Regions from separate parts of the Homo sapiens genome. Here all the other regions are linked to region 1. Evidence: promoter capture Hi-C in 16 types of primary human blood cells and fetal thymus (Javierre and others, 2016). All regions are on one chromosome and are shown on one strand. Each heading gives the region's core, a stretch centred on a gene start or on the middle of the fragment in contact. The rest is flanking DNA. Distances are from core to core; before and after follow the strand shown.

Evidence for each region. Contacts are between HindIII fragments. The CHiCAGO score rates a contact against its expected background, and 5 or more counts as called.
Region 2: a contact is called between the fragment with the promoter of OR1S2 here and the fragment with the promoter of OR5B2 in region 1, in 12 of 17 cell types (M2 macrophages, neutrophils, endothelial precursors and 9 more). The highest score is 8.7, in M2 macrophages.
Region 3: the fragment with the promoter of OR10Q1 here is called in contact with the fragment with the promoter of OR5B2 in region 1 in 15 of 17 cell types (naive CD8 T cells, total CD8 T cells, neutrophils and 12 more); the score reaches 12.0 in naive CD8 T cells.
Region 4: a contact is called between the fragment with the promoter of OR10W1 here and the fragment with the promoter of OR5B2 in region 1, in 16 of 17 cell types (neutrophils, fetal thymus, monocytes and 13 more). The highest score is 15.9, in neutrophils.

Annotation. Positions count from the first base shown.
Region 1 is chr11:58,426,512-58,430,197 of GRCh38, forward strand. OR5B2 (olfactory receptor family 5 subfamily B member 2) reads right to left here and starts at 1,610. Exons shown (of 3, transcript NM_001005566.3): 1 at 1,508-1,610; 2 at 111-165. The HindIII fragment of the contact is 6,968 bases long and covers 1-3,111 here.
Region 2 is chr11:58,202,177-58,205,862 of GRCh38, forward strand. OR1S2 (olfactory receptor family 1 subfamily S member 2) reads right to left here and starts at 1,966. Exons shown (of 1, transcript NM_001004459.2): 1 at 1,028-1,966. The coding sequence starts at 1,966. The coding sequence ends at 1,028. The HindIII fragment of the contact is 6,408 bases long and covers 1-2,087 here.
Region 3 is chr11:58,227,268-58,230,953 of GRCh38, forward strand. It overlaps OR10Q1 (olfactory receptor family 10 subfamily Q member 1), which reads right to left and starts at 1,651. Exons shown (of 1, transcript NM_001004471.2): 1 at 615-1,651. The coding sequence starts at 1,608. The coding sequence ends at 649. The HindIII fragment of the contact is 6,807 bases long and covers 1-2,371 here.
Region 4 is chr11:58,266,561-58,270,246 of GRCh38, forward strand. It overlaps OR10W1 (olfactory receptor family 10 subfamily W member 1), which reads right to left and starts at 1,700. Exons shown (of 1, transcript NM_207374.3): 1 at 232-1,700. The coding sequence starts at 1,298. The coding sequence ends at 381. The HindIII fragment of the contact is 7,272 bases long and covers 1-3,686 here.

The DNA.
Region 1 (3,686 bases), core at 360-2,859:
AAACTGAACTCTGATTACTCAATGGGAAAATGTTTGCCCTTGAACTTTTATATAACACATATTCTATTACTACAACCTAAACAGACCGTAGAACAGAGCTAGAAACTTACCTTGCTCTTCAAGGAAGATGACACACTTTCAGTTGGTATCTTCAAATTGCAAGTCCTACTCAAAGAAGAAAGAAAAGCTCCTATTTAAGAAGTTATTATTTAATGTCTAGTCACAAATATTGAAGTTCTCTAGAGGGAGGGAGATTTAAGGAAAAAGTAATGACTAGGTGGAGATTAGAAAATATTCTCCAACTTGTCACACAGGGCTGCTGCTGTGAGGAAAAATAGAAGTCTCTGAATGCACTCTGTAAAGTCCTAAAGAGCTGTAAGAAGGGATCATCGTATCTGCAATGAACATCATTTTTAGCTGGGGGTCTTATCCCTGGCCATTGTTGCAGACTCAGAGTAATATACCAGTGTGAAATAAGGCCACTTAGTACAATGGACAACCTTTTACACTGAGATCAATAAATGATCACCAAAAGGTGACACACAGGGTGGAACCTCTAACATGATGTTAAATAGAGTCATGTTGGGATGTTAGAGACCAATGACTGGGAACTAACAATAATTGAGGAATTTGAACGTACATAAAGTTCTCAGGGGACAAGTTACCCATGAGAATAACCACAGTCTCTCACTCCAATCATCTAGAGAAGCAATAATTAAACTGCATATGAAAGCCTGGTTCCATTTTCTTAGGAAGAACACCAGTGTATTTACTTTACTCAGGGTTATTTCTTCTTGGTAATGTGAACATCTTCAGAAAAGATTCATCATTAACTTTCCTGGCAGAAATCAGACAGAATCATGAGTGGCATAATGGAAACTAGGCTAAAGTGTTATGTAAGTTTCGTTGGCCGATGGCAGCATAACTTCACAAAGTTCATATTGAGATTATAGGTTGTATAAACACTTACGCACTTCAGTTCTCTCATTAATAAAACAGAGATGAGTATTTTTTTTCTGAGATAGCAGAATGGATGCTTTGCCAGAATCCTTGCTCACTTGGAAATAGCAAGTGGTGTGTAGAGATTCACACTGTGAATTTGCATCCAAGTAGAAACATGATTGTTCAATATAAAAGTGAAAGAAAACTTTGTATACTGCTGAAAACAAGACAGACAGCAGCCCAAATGGAAAACTGTGAATCAGTCCCTCCATATGTGAGAGGGGGAGTGCTCCACAATACACATACCCACCAGGAAGCCAGGCAACCTAGGCTATCGGGAACTTTTTGAGTTTCCCAAAACCTGGATCAGACTTGGGGAACAGTCAAGGGACTGTGAGAAGGAAGAGCACTGGGAAGTACCCCACATGCACTCTCAGACTTAAGGACCAATGGAAGGAGGTCATTCCTGATGCTAACTCATAGTGGGTTGCACAGGAACCTGCCAGCTAGCATTGGTGTCAGTCACTGGTTTGTAGAGTTGTTAGCCAGAGATTTGTGATCTTACCTTGATTGGAGGAGGAATCCACATGGCCAGAATGGAGAGGCAAGAATAGCATGGGCTTCAGCTGTGGACAATGGAATTGGGAATCCACCTTGCAGGACAAGACCAGGAGGGTTTGAGTCTGAGAGGAGTGGTTTTGACCACGGTAGCAAGTTTTGCAGCCTGAGGCATTTTCACACTCTAAAGGCAAAGTGCATTTGAGTTGGCTAACTGTCCCAACGCACTGCTAGTGTCCAGCTGTGGGAAAGAGCCCTGCTGGGTTTAATGAGAGCAAACTGGGTCTTACTACCCCTTGATAGGCCATGGAGCCTAGGATGTACTCTTTCCCTCATGGGGTCATTGGCATAGCAGCAGTTGCTCTGCTTATTGCTGGAGCGTTTCTTCAGAGGTCTGAGGATTGCTCTCTGAACCTTGTAAGGGCCAGCACTTGTACATGCCATCGTGGGGTTCAAGTGCAGACTTGCACAACCCAACACTGCCCAGCTTTGCCCTCTTGCCTTGGATACAAAGCATGGAACCAGGACCACTGTGTGTTCCATAGCCCAAATCATTATCTGGGACACCCAAACCAGTACACTAAGGATATTTACAAACAAGAAAATCATACAGAGTCTACACCAGTTTAGACAGCCAGAAACAAAGCCAAATAACCCTACTCAGCATACATTATAGTCACATTCCCAAGAAAAATAAGTCACACCCCAATGAAAGTAAATTCAATAATAGAAGTGACTAATTCTCCAGATGCAAAGAAATCAGGATAATAATACTGGAAGTATGAAAAACAAAGTGCTATAACACCTCCAAAGGAGCACAGTAATTCTCTAGCAATGGATTTGAACCAATAAGAAATCTTCAAAATGTCAGATAAAGAATTCAAAATACTGATTTTAAAGAAGTTCTATAAGACATAAGAGAAAACTGAATACCAATGCAAAGACATCAGAAAATCAATTCCTGATATGAGCTAGAAATTTACCAAGAAGGTAGAGATCTTAAAGAAACAAACAACTTCTGGAAATGAAAATTTCACTGAAAGAATTATGAAGAACAGTTGAAAGCCTTAAGAATAGACTAGAACGAGCAGAGAAGAGAATCTCAAAATTTGAAGACAGGTCTTTTGAATTAATTCAATCAGACAAAAATAAAGAAAGGAGAATAAAGAAGAACAAACAAAGCCTTTAAGAAGTATGGGACTACATAAAGCAACCAAACATATGAAGTATAAGTATTTCCAAGGGAGAAGAAAAAGCAAAAAGTTCAGAAACCCTATTTAAGGAAATAATTGACAACAAGTTTCCCGAGTTTGGGAAGAGATTTACACATCCAGATACAATAAGCCCAACAAACTACAGGAAAATACATTGTAAAAAGGACCTCAACATGACATATAGTCATCAGATTGTCTAAAGTCAACATGAAAGAAAAATCCTAAAATCAGCATGAGAAAAGTGTCTAGTCATCTATAAAGAAAACACCATTAGAATAATAGTGGACTTTAAAAGCAGAAACCTTACAAGCCAGAAAAAATAGAGATTCTATTTTTAAAGTACTTAAAGGAAAAAAAAAACCCTGTCAACCACCAATTTTATATCCTATTCAGAATAAGCTTCATAAATGGAGGAGAAATAAAGTTCTTCTCAGACAATCAAATGCTGAGGGAATTCATTACCACTAGACTGGCCCTATAAGAAATTCTGCAGGAGTTCTAAATGTGGATACAAAATGTCAATATTCACCATCATATAAACACAAAATTACAAAAAGTAAAAAAAGGAAATCCAATGACTACATGACAAAACTCCACTAAAGCACAAAGACAAAGGAAAAAAAGAAATGAAGAATCTACAAAACAGCTAGATTACAATCTACATTATGTCAGAAACAAAAGCTCACATGACAATATTAACCTTAACAATAAATGAATTAAAATTTTCCACTTAAAAGATATACATTGATGACATGGATAAAAACATGAAGCAACTACATGCTACTTAAAAGAAACTCACCTTACTGGTTGGTAGACAGTTATAGACTGAAGGTAAACAGGTGGAAAAGATATTCCACACAGATGAAAACCAAAAGTGGGTAGTAGTAGTTACACTTATATCAGGTAAAACAGACTTAAAATAAACCATGATAAAAAATACAAATAAGGCCATTATATAATGATAAAGAGATC
Region 2 (3,686 bases), core at 716-3,215, 220 kb before region 1:
CGCGAACAACTGTGATGAATTGGGTTCTGTATGATGGAAATAATTGAATTTCAATTATTTCAAGTTTAGTCTTGAGAAATGCTGTGTACCATCTTACCCTCTTGGAGATTTACATGACAATGAAGGTTCTTGGAAGTTGTCCAGTTATTACATTGTGCTTCATATAACTCAGAGTTGCCAAAAATTATTTGACCATGGGAATCTTCATTGTTATAACCACTAAACATCTCACTGAATAGTACCTTAACAAAACAAACTTTGAGAAAAACTGACCTAAAGAAATGTAGATTAAAGAAAGAAGTAGTAATAACTGTCTTCAAAGCTACAAAGGCTAGACTGTAGGCACTCTATGCACCTGTGATAGTCTAGGTTATGAATAATTTGTACCAAAGTTTATAATAATATAGATTGTAATTAAGATGTGTTTTTAAATTAATTTTTTATTTATGCATAAATTTTTAATTTATCAATACATGTATTTTTATTGATAAATTGTCCTCCATAGTTATGGGGAACATCTTATATTTTGATACATTCATATAATGTGTAATAATCAAATTAGGGGATTAGGATATCCATAACCTTAAACATTTATCTTTTCTTTATGCTGGGAACATTGGAATTATTCTCTTTTAGCTATTTTGAAATATATAATAGATTACTGTTTACCATAGTGCCCCATAATGATTTATCAAACAATAGGTCTTATTTCTTCTATCTAACTGTATTGTTGTACCCATTAATCAACCTCTATTCAACTCCACTCCACTTCTCTGCTACTGGGCCCTGGTAACCACCAATCTACTCTCTAAGGATGCGTGTTATTCTTGTGACTTACCATGGCAGTTACAGATTTTGTTTCCAAGACAAGAGCTAAGTGGAAAAGCTCCAATCCCCTTAGAGGTTGGAATAGGAGACAGACATCTGCAAGTTCATCAAAAGTTGAACCGTCACAACTGTGTCATACACTCTGGGCTGAATCATTTATCTGATTATGTGGACTAAAAGAATGTAGATGTCCAGGGCATCAAAGGGAAGAAATTTTTCTATTGATGAGCTTTCTCAGGGCACCTTTCATATCCTTATTCCTCAAGCTGTAGATGAAGGGGTTCATCATGGGTGTCACCACAGTGAATAGGACAGCACCAATCTTATCAGTGTCCTCAGGGTGAGTGGAGGAGGGGAAAAAGTACACGCCTACAGTGGTTCCGTAGAACAGTAATGCAATTGTCAGGTGAGAGCCACAAGTGGAGAAGGCTTTCCACTTTCCCTGTGTGGATGATACTCCCAGGACAGCTCTGATGATGCAGACATAGGAGAAGAAGATGAGTACAAAGGGGAAGATGATAACTGATAAACCCACAATAAACAACACAAGCTCATTGATCATTGTATCTGAACAGGACAGTTTGAGCAGAGGGGCCAAGTCACAGAAGAAGTGTGGGAGAGTGTTGTGGTCACAGAAGAGCAATTGAATGAGCAGAAGGGTGTGTGTAAGAGCAATAATATTACTGAGGAACCACGAGATGACTGTGAGCAAAGTGCCGAACCTGGCCCGCATGAAAGTTGTATAGTTCAGAGGGTGGCAGATCGCCACAAAGTGGTCGAAGGCCATGGTCCCCAAAAGCAAATTGTCAGTGACGACAAACACAATAGAAAAGTACATCTGTGTGATGCAGCTCTCATAAGAGATGGATTGGCTGTTGGTTTGAATATTCACCAGCATTTTGGGGACTGAGTTGGAAATGGAGGAAATATCAGCAAAGGATAGGTAGGCAAGGAAGAGATACATGGGGGTGTGAAGGTATATATCCAAGCTGATAGCCACAATGATGAGCCCGTTCCCAACCACAGTGACCACATACATACTCAGGAAAAGCACAAAGAGGAGGTTTTGATGTTCAGCCTGGTTGGAGAGTCCCAGGAGAATGAATTCAGTGATGGTGGTTTGGTTTTCTTGATGCATATTTCTGCTGATCTGAAGAAAGGAACACAAAGTCTTCATACACCTACAAGAAAATTTAACATGGTGTCATTTGGCTGCAGCCATTACAGTAAGGCACTTCCTTTAAGCTGATGAGCAATAAAGCTTCTTCTGCTTATTAAGTGGAAGTGCTACTTAATAAGGAAGTATTTCAGCAGTGCAGAGATTTGGAAAATGCCACAGAAAAAGACAGGACATGGCAGATTCTTCTCAATGAACATGTTTTAAACTCTAACAGAATTCTGAATGTGATTTTCCCAGTTGGTTCTAAATGTAGGTTAAATCCCCCAAACTGAGGATCATAGGTGAGGCATACCCTATATTCTAGAGATGTTAGGTACATGTGCAGGAATTACTTAAAAGTTACCAAACTGGTCCCCAAATCATCTCCCTTGTTCAACTTTATGCCTTAAATCTAAGAAAGGAGAAATTTCAAGTCTCGTAAAAGTGAAGAGACTGGAGAAGGAAACACAACTAAGGGTTAGGAATGGCTATGGGAGTGTACACCATTGTGTGGGTGCTTCATCCCATTAACGCCGGGGGAGAACTCCAAAACAAGTGCTTTTGGAGAATAAGTACAAGTAGGAGCAATCAGGGTTTTACTTCATCTGTGGCTAGATATTAGCTTCAAGAAAATTTAGGGGGCACAGATACACTTAAAGACTTCTGTTTGCCTCTCATTTCTAAAGGTGAGGGGCTCACTGGATCAGGTCGTGATGGCAGGGTAGAGGGAAAAGATGGTGGTTAGTAGGGCAATCTGCATTTTCACCCATGACATGGCATAAATATGTGAATTTCCCATAGGACACGTGATGCTATAGGAGGTCATTGGAGTCAAGTCACCTTGTTGAGATTCCAATCCAGAGACAGCCTATTGGGGCAGAGGAGGCTGTAGCAATAAGAAACCATGAGGTGGGTCTCTTTTGAAAGAGAGATCTTAAAGAGATCAGGGACATAATTCATTGCCCTTGTCAGGGAACCGCATAATGGGGCAGTCTCCAAAAGGGAGCCTCTGACAATCCTCAAAATGATCTCAAGAGACACCATGCCTGCCACATATAAGGCACAAGCTGCTAGTATCTATGGCAACAGATATGAACACTTTTGCCTTTTTTCCCATCCCCATTCTTCCTCCCTGACCTGATAAAACTGAAAAAGAAGGAAAGACCAAAATGACTAAAACAACAACAACAATAGTAACAACAACGGTTTTGCGGGAAGAGAGGCCAAAGAGCAAGGGAAGAACATATGCTCCCACCTTTCCACTGTATGACCCAAGCTACACATCAGATCTGAACTTACAAGGTAGGACCCATGCTTTGAATTGATAGTGAAGCTGAAGTTTAAAATTGGGCTGGACTTGGTTTTTTAATACCTGGAAATGGGTCTTCAGTATCAAAGTTAAACATTTTTAAAACCTTAAGTGGCCAGAAAGGTAAACGGCTCTCACAAGGTGTCATCCAGGAGAAGGGAAGAGAGACTGGACCTAGTATGATTTTCCTTGTGATTTATTGGAAATAATTTCAGCTTGGGAACAAAGAGACATTTGTCCCTCTTTCTACTCTCCTAACATTGTCTCCCTCTCATTTTATCCCTCTCTTCTACCTATCTCCAACATCACTTATCTCTCAAAGATTTTCTTTCCATTCAGCATCCAGAAAAGAGGAAATCATGTCTGGAATTCCTGAAAACTGAAAGGCAT
Region 3 (3,686 bases), core at 401-2,900, 200 kb before region 1:
ACAGCAAAGACTAGTGTGAGAGCCACCAGCACAGAGGGCTCATGCAGGCAGGGCTGGCATAGACCAGAGGTAATTCTCCATACCCTAGCAAGGCTGGTACATAGTAGGTGATTAGTCAATGAAAGAAAATTCCTAGCCCCTTTCTGGCATGAAGAAAATGAAAGCAACCAGTTGGGATGTATGGTGCAAAGGAAATTAATGCATTAAGTAAGCTATTGTTTGTCATATACTGATACCCAAAACAATAATAAAATGTGTTTATTTGAGCAAAATATGTCTTTATGAATATTCCTTACTTAAGGCAACTTTCACAGGGTAAATTACATCATCTCCCCAGGAGGCAGCATGCCTATCAGCCTTTATTCACAGTATGTATGGGGTGTTCCTAATATGGCAATTGACATAGGTGAGCTGCAAATCCTTAAAGTAGAGCTAAGTAAACTAGCATTCCTACGCTGTAAGTTCTGTCCAAATTTTCATATCTTAGTCAAAGCACTTCAGAAAAATGAGCATGAATTGTGAACTTGGGGCAAATATGGCAAAAAAGAAACATCAAGTGCACAGTGTGAGAAAGTACTACAGTTCTGTGTCATTTAGAGTTCTTTGACACAGCAACAGACAGACACCCAGCCCAGTGCCCCTAAGCCTTCAGTTGGCGTCAGAGGCTGCTTTACGGATAATGGCACTCCTCAGAGCACCTTTGACATCCTTGTTCCTAAGGCTGTAAAGCAAAGGGTTGAGTAAGGGGGTGACAAAGGTGTAGACCAACGCGATTTGGCTGTCCTCATCCTCTGAGGTGCTGGACCGAGGACGCAGGTACACGAGGCTGCAGCAGCCATACTGCAGCAGGACCACGGTGAGGTGGAAGGAGCAGGTGGAGAAGGCCCGGCGGCGGCCCTCGGCAGAACGGATGCTCAGGATGGCACAGGTGATGAACACGTAGGAGACGCAGATGAGCAGGAAGGGGATGGTCAGCACGAGGATGCTCACGACATAGAGGACAGCCTGGTGCACGCGGATGTCAGCGCAGGCCAGGCGCAGGACGGGAGGCACATCGCAGAGGAAGTGGTTGATTTCCTGGTGGTGGCCGCAAAAGGGCAGGGTGAAGATTAAGGCGGTGAGCTGCAGGGAGGGGAAGAGGGCCAGGCCCAGGGCCCCACCCAGCATCTGCGTGCACAGCTCGCGGGTCATGATGAGGGTGTAGTGCAGCGGGTGGCAGATAGCCACATAGCGGTCATAGGCCATGATCGCCAAGAGGAAACAGTCCGTGCTGCCGAGGGTGACAAAGAAGAACATTTGGGCCCCACATCCAGCCAACGAAATGGGCTTCTGGGCCCCCAAAATGTTGGAAAGCATCAAGGGTACTACCACGGTGGTGTAGCAGAGTTCCAGGAAAGACAGGTTGGACAGGAAGAAATACATCGGGGTGCGGAGGGTGCTGTGTGTGCACACCACCCAGATGATGGCTGTGTTGCCACAGAGGATCATCAAGTAGAGGAGGAGGAAGAGAAGGAAGAGAAGAACCTGGAATTCAGTGGCTGTGGTGAACGCACGGAACACAAACTCAGTGGGCTCAGACTGGTTGAAGACAAGTTTCCCCACAGGCATGTCTTATGCAAAAGAATAGGACGCGCTGAGCTCTTCTTGGCTGAGTTGCTTTATTTCTTTTTTTTCTTTTTGAGACGGAGTCTCGCTCTGTCGCCCAGGCTGGAGTGCAGTGGCGGGATCTCGGCTCACTGCAAGCTCCGCCTCCCGGGTTCACGCCATTCTCCTGCCTCAGCCTCCCAAGTAGCTGGGACTACAGGCGCCTGCCACTACGCCCGGCTAATTTTTTTGTATTTTTTTAAGTAGAGACCGGGTTTCACCGTTTTAGCCGGGATGGTCTCGATCTCCTGACCTCGTGATCCGCCCGCCTCGGCCTCCCAAAGTGCTGGGATTACAGGCGTGAGCCACCGCGCCCGGCCGCTTTATTTCTTTAGTAAAAGCAGGAGTGTACAATTTTATTTGGAATTAACTATTTAGTAGCTAGTTTCCAATCACGGTGCATGAGAATGAATTCACGATATAGGGTTTGGTATACTTTTCCTTGGAAATCCTCATGAATGGGATAGACAGTCATCTGCAGAAATTCCTGGGGGCAAGACATGTAGACACATGTAGATGTTCCTTGTGAAATATCTCCCCCCACCCCGATATTTTCAATCCAATTGATAAGACTTAATTATTTTGCTTGTATTTAATTACAGTGAAGAGTTGTATGGTTGCACATATTTTAAAATTAGATAAATGAATTTGTCTTTTACTTTTTTCAGTAAGCACTCTCATTGAAATATAACATACATGTGGAGGAATTCACAAATCCTAAGTGTGAAGCTTGATTTGTTTATTTATTTTAACATCGTAAATACGCCAGTATAACCACTACAAAGATTAAGAAATAGAACGATTCCAGTGACCTACAAACATCCTTCATGTTCTCAGTCTTTATGCTTCACAAAAGTAACCACTTTTTGACTTTTATCATTACAGATTGATGTAACTATGTTTCAACTTATATATGAAATGCTAAAGCATGTACTTTATTGTAACTGGCTTCAACATTATGTCTGCAAAGGTTATTCTTGTTGTTCTGAATCAATCCTTTGTTCTTTCCATTGCTTTATGGCTATAAGTTATTCACTTTACATTCAGTTATTTTGACTCCACATACAAGTAGGAAAACACCCATTGTTACAATCTTTTCTGATATGTACTCTTCATATATTTCCTCTCTTTTGAACATTTTATCTAAATTTCCAACAGGAAGCTAAACTTTTGGACTCAAATAGTTTCAAATGAAAGGGAAGTGAACAGAGTCAGGTTAAAATTAAAGTGGAGCTTCCTGAGATAAGAAAAGACAATGAGGAAACTAAAAATGCAATAGCACAATTGAATTATGCATTAACATAATCAAGAGAATAAGAAAGACCTTTGCAAGCATCTGGGAAGTTAAAAATACCTGTGAATTAAGCACTTTCAGGTTAGACTACAACTTTATTTTTAATACAAAAATTTAAGAGACAATACAAAATATCTACAGAATTTTAAGAAAAACAAATTGGAGTGAAAGAATTCTGTATCAAAGCCTTAGTGATTTATGTTCAAAAGCAACAGAAAGACTTTCTCAGATTTGGAAGGGCTTAGGAATTATTTCATTCTAAATATAATTTTAAAAATCCCTCAACAAAGACTATGAGTTGCTGCATGATTAATCAGAGTAATCAGAACATATACTTTAAGGTTGGGAAAGTTGTAATGTAAAATAATATGCTTTGGAAAAGCAAATAATAAAATATGTATTTAATATTAAATAGTGCAAATATTGTTAAAAGCAAAAAAGAATTGCTGAGAATAATTTTTAAAGATGTGCATAATATAAAATATGAAAACTAAAATAATTATGTATATTTAAAACCACAATTTATATAATAGAAAAACTGATAGGGAGGGATGGGAGAAATGAAAATATGCTAATTTCCTAAACCTATGTACAAAAAGACTCCATAAATATTTTATTTAGATGTGACTAGAGAAATTAGTCACAACCATATATATCCAAACACATATTTCAAACATATTTCTGAATAATAATCATCAATAGAATAAAAACCAGCATATCCATTCCAAATGATCAGAAGATTTTAAAA
Region 4 (3,686 bases), core at 450-2,949, 160 kb before region 1:
TCCTGCTATTGCTAGCGTGTTAGTGCTCTGCCACATTTTATTGGTTTCCTTACCTATAACCACTGCAGATAACCCTTTTTAAATATTTTTTTAGTTAAAAATCTATTGAGTGAGCTATCTCTTCTCAGCTGGTAACTGGACAAAGTATTATACTTGCCACTTTATATCACTTTATGCTCATGTAGTTCTTTCCAAGAAGAGAAATTACAGAGTCAAATTGTAGAAATATTTAAAAATCTTTGGCACACATAAACAGTATCCATATAATTTATACCATCTTTTAGATGAGTTTTAACACCAAATGATAGAAATCTCAGTTTCATACAGATTTGGTGGGCTGGAACCAAATACTTGCCTGATAGGCTGTCCCCTCGTCTTTCCTAGCTGTTCTGGGAAAGGCAGTTCCTGGTAAGAACTCTCCCTACGGCCCCTTTCATCTCACTGTTCCTCAGGGCATAGATAAGTGGGTTGAGCAGTGGGGTTCCCAATGTGTACACCAGTGAGATGAACCGATCTTGCTTGGGGTTGTAGCTGGAGCTGGGGCACAGGTACATGAAGGCACAGCAGCCATACTGCAGCAGCACCACAGTGAGGTGGGAAGAGCAGGTGGAGAAGGCCCGGTGGCGGCCAGCAGCCGAGTGGATCTTGAGCAGAGCAGCCACTATGAAGGTGTAGGAGGTGGTGATGAGGAAGAAAGGCACAGCAATGGCTAGTATGGCTGCCACCAGCACTGACTGCTCATGAATGTGACTCTGAGCACAAACAACATGCATGACTGGTGGCACATCACAAAAGAAGTGCTCAATGCCCTGAGCCTGGCAGAATGGCAGAGAGAAGATGAAGGCCACCAGTTGTAAGGACAGGAACAGACCACTGATGACTGATGCCACAACCAAGTGGACACAAAGAGTCAATGTCATGAGGAGAGGGTACTGCAACGGGTGGCAAATGGCCACATAGCGGTCATAGGCCATGGCAGCCAAGAGGAAGCAATCAGCACTGCCCAGTGCAATGAAGAAAGCCATCTGGGTGGCACAGCCCAGGAGAGTGATGGTCTTCTCTGACTGTAGGGTGTTGGCCAGGATATGGGGCACCACCACTGCAGTGTAGCATATTTCAATCCCAGAAAGGCTGCCCAGGAAATAGTACATGGATGTGCATAGACAGGTTTCTGTGTGAATGGACACCACAATGAGAATGTTCCCAGTGATGATCAAACCATAAACCAGGCTGACCCCAAGGAAGGACAGAATATGCAGTTCTGGGCAGGAGGGATAGGCCAGGAACACAAATTCCATCAACACTGAGTGATTTTCCCAGGTAATTGAGCTAACAGTATTTCTCTGTGGAGAGCTACAAGTACAGAAGGAAGAATCAGACTGAAGATAAATTAAGTTACACTCTGAGCCATGAATCTAATGTAATCAGCACTGGAGTTAGAAACTGGAAGGATCAAGACTAGTTCTTTTTCTTTTCTCCACTTTTACCAAGTTTCTCCACATTAATATCTACACCTCAATTTCTACCTGCCAAGAGTTGGGCCAAACTATGTAAGATACTATTGAAGAAAAATGGCAGAGGAAGTGGGTGGGATTCAGGAGCTATTTTCAGAAAGAGTGGAATGAAAATTCAATTCTTTCAGCAAATTCACAAGAAAGTGTCAAGGAATTCTTGGGGCTAGAAATCATTAAGGTAAGGGAGATAAGCCATTTATTCATTCACTTATTCATTCACATATTTATTAGGTTGGTGCAAAAGTAGTTGCGGTTTTGCCATTTTGATGGCAAAAACTGCAATTACTTTTGCACCAACCTAATATTTACACTCAATATCTCCTGGGGTATTGAATAAGTGATATGTCAATGTAACTCTCAAAACTAGTGATGGGAAGTGAAGAAAGAAAAAAAATTACCCATGAAGCAAAGGGCTAACAGAGGCCTGAGTATGACAGTGTCAGGGATACGCCTCAGAAAGCAAAGCCCTGTCTACTATTGGTTTTTCTATCCTTATCTGACCAGAAGTATAAGGCTTGAAGGAAACAAGGTGTTTTATCATATGTTTCCTCCTGGCGTGGGTGGAGGTATGAGAAAATATGTGATCCCAAGATGTTGGAAATCTAAGAAGCCTTCCTGTGAATTTGGGCATGATTATGAAAGTCTAAGCCCATCTATTTTTCATATTTCTCAGAAGCTAATGTGAAATCTGGGAGAAGCCATATCTTTTCCACAAAAACCTTTTAATAAACAGACGTAATTTGCAAAGGGCATCCATTCCACTTCTTTTCCCAGACCAACTCATATTAAATAAGGTGGAAAAGACGTAATGTGTGGCCTTGTTTCAACGTGCCAAATTTTAATATTTCCTGTCATTGAATATGAGATTTGAAGAGAAATCTCTACCCAGAGGCACCACTTCCAGTAAAAATTATTCACACAAACCCACCTCAGTGTCACAAGCATGGGGAAAAATATGAGTAGGCAGCTACAAATATTAAGAGCACCTAGGGCAGAAATGGCTCTCTGCTGTTTTTCCAACAGCTAACAAGTGGTATCTATTTCAGTTGGTCTCTTTTCCTGAGCTGAACTTCAATAATGCTTTGAGTGGTTTCTAATGCCACTTAGCATATTGCACATTATACTATATCATGTGGAGGAGGGGCAGTGTATCAATGTGAAATCAGCAGTGAAGGGAAGTGATGTGGTTTGAATAATTCCAGCTCCTGGCTTCATGATGTTAGGTAATATATAATTTCTCTAAGCCTCAATTTCTGTATTTGAAAAATGGGAATAATAATTATACTTAGACAAAAGAATTGCTGTAAGTTTAAATGCAATAGTAATGTAAGATATCACAATGAACTGTCCATAGTAATGGCAACCTAATAAAAGATAATCATCATTATTATTTATAAATTCAAGGGCAGCCATTCTGCTTTATTTACATTTTGATCATCCCATATAAGCACGCCTAATGTTGTGCAAATTTTAGACACTCAATAATTATATGTCGAATGGATAATACAGCTTGAAAATGTTATTTATACATTTTCTTCATTTTCTACTTTCACTTTGCCGTGCAATGAAAGATTTAAGATTATTCATAATCAAATCACTTGTTTAGGAGTCCTTATATAAAACAACTTCGTATCTAAGATTTGGGCTGCACTGTGGAAATAATTCTATCATTCAAGAACATAGCATATGGAAGTCTACAACAGGCACACATCTAAAGGCTAGTCTACCATCTATATTATTATACAGAGACAGTTTGAAATCTGTGTCACAATGACAACTTCTGAGAATTTTATTGTAGTCTATTACATTCATATCATCTTTTCAAAAAGTTATATTTTGTTTTTAATTGACAATAATAATTGTACAATGTGATGCTTTGATACATATACACATTGTGGAATGATCAAATCAGGCTAATCAGCATATCCGTCATGTCATATAGTTATCATCTGAATACTGCTCTCTATAATATTTGTAATCTGAACACTCCACCTATAATAAAATATTTAAAATATTTACATCAGAGCTATTATAAGTCATAAATTCTAACTGCAAGAAGGGACCTCAAAAATGGCCAATTTGATCCCCAGTTATTAGATACTTGAATTTCCAATACAGTGTGTAGACACTGGGTCACCTTCAATGCCCAGGGAATCCCATTATCTCCTGGTT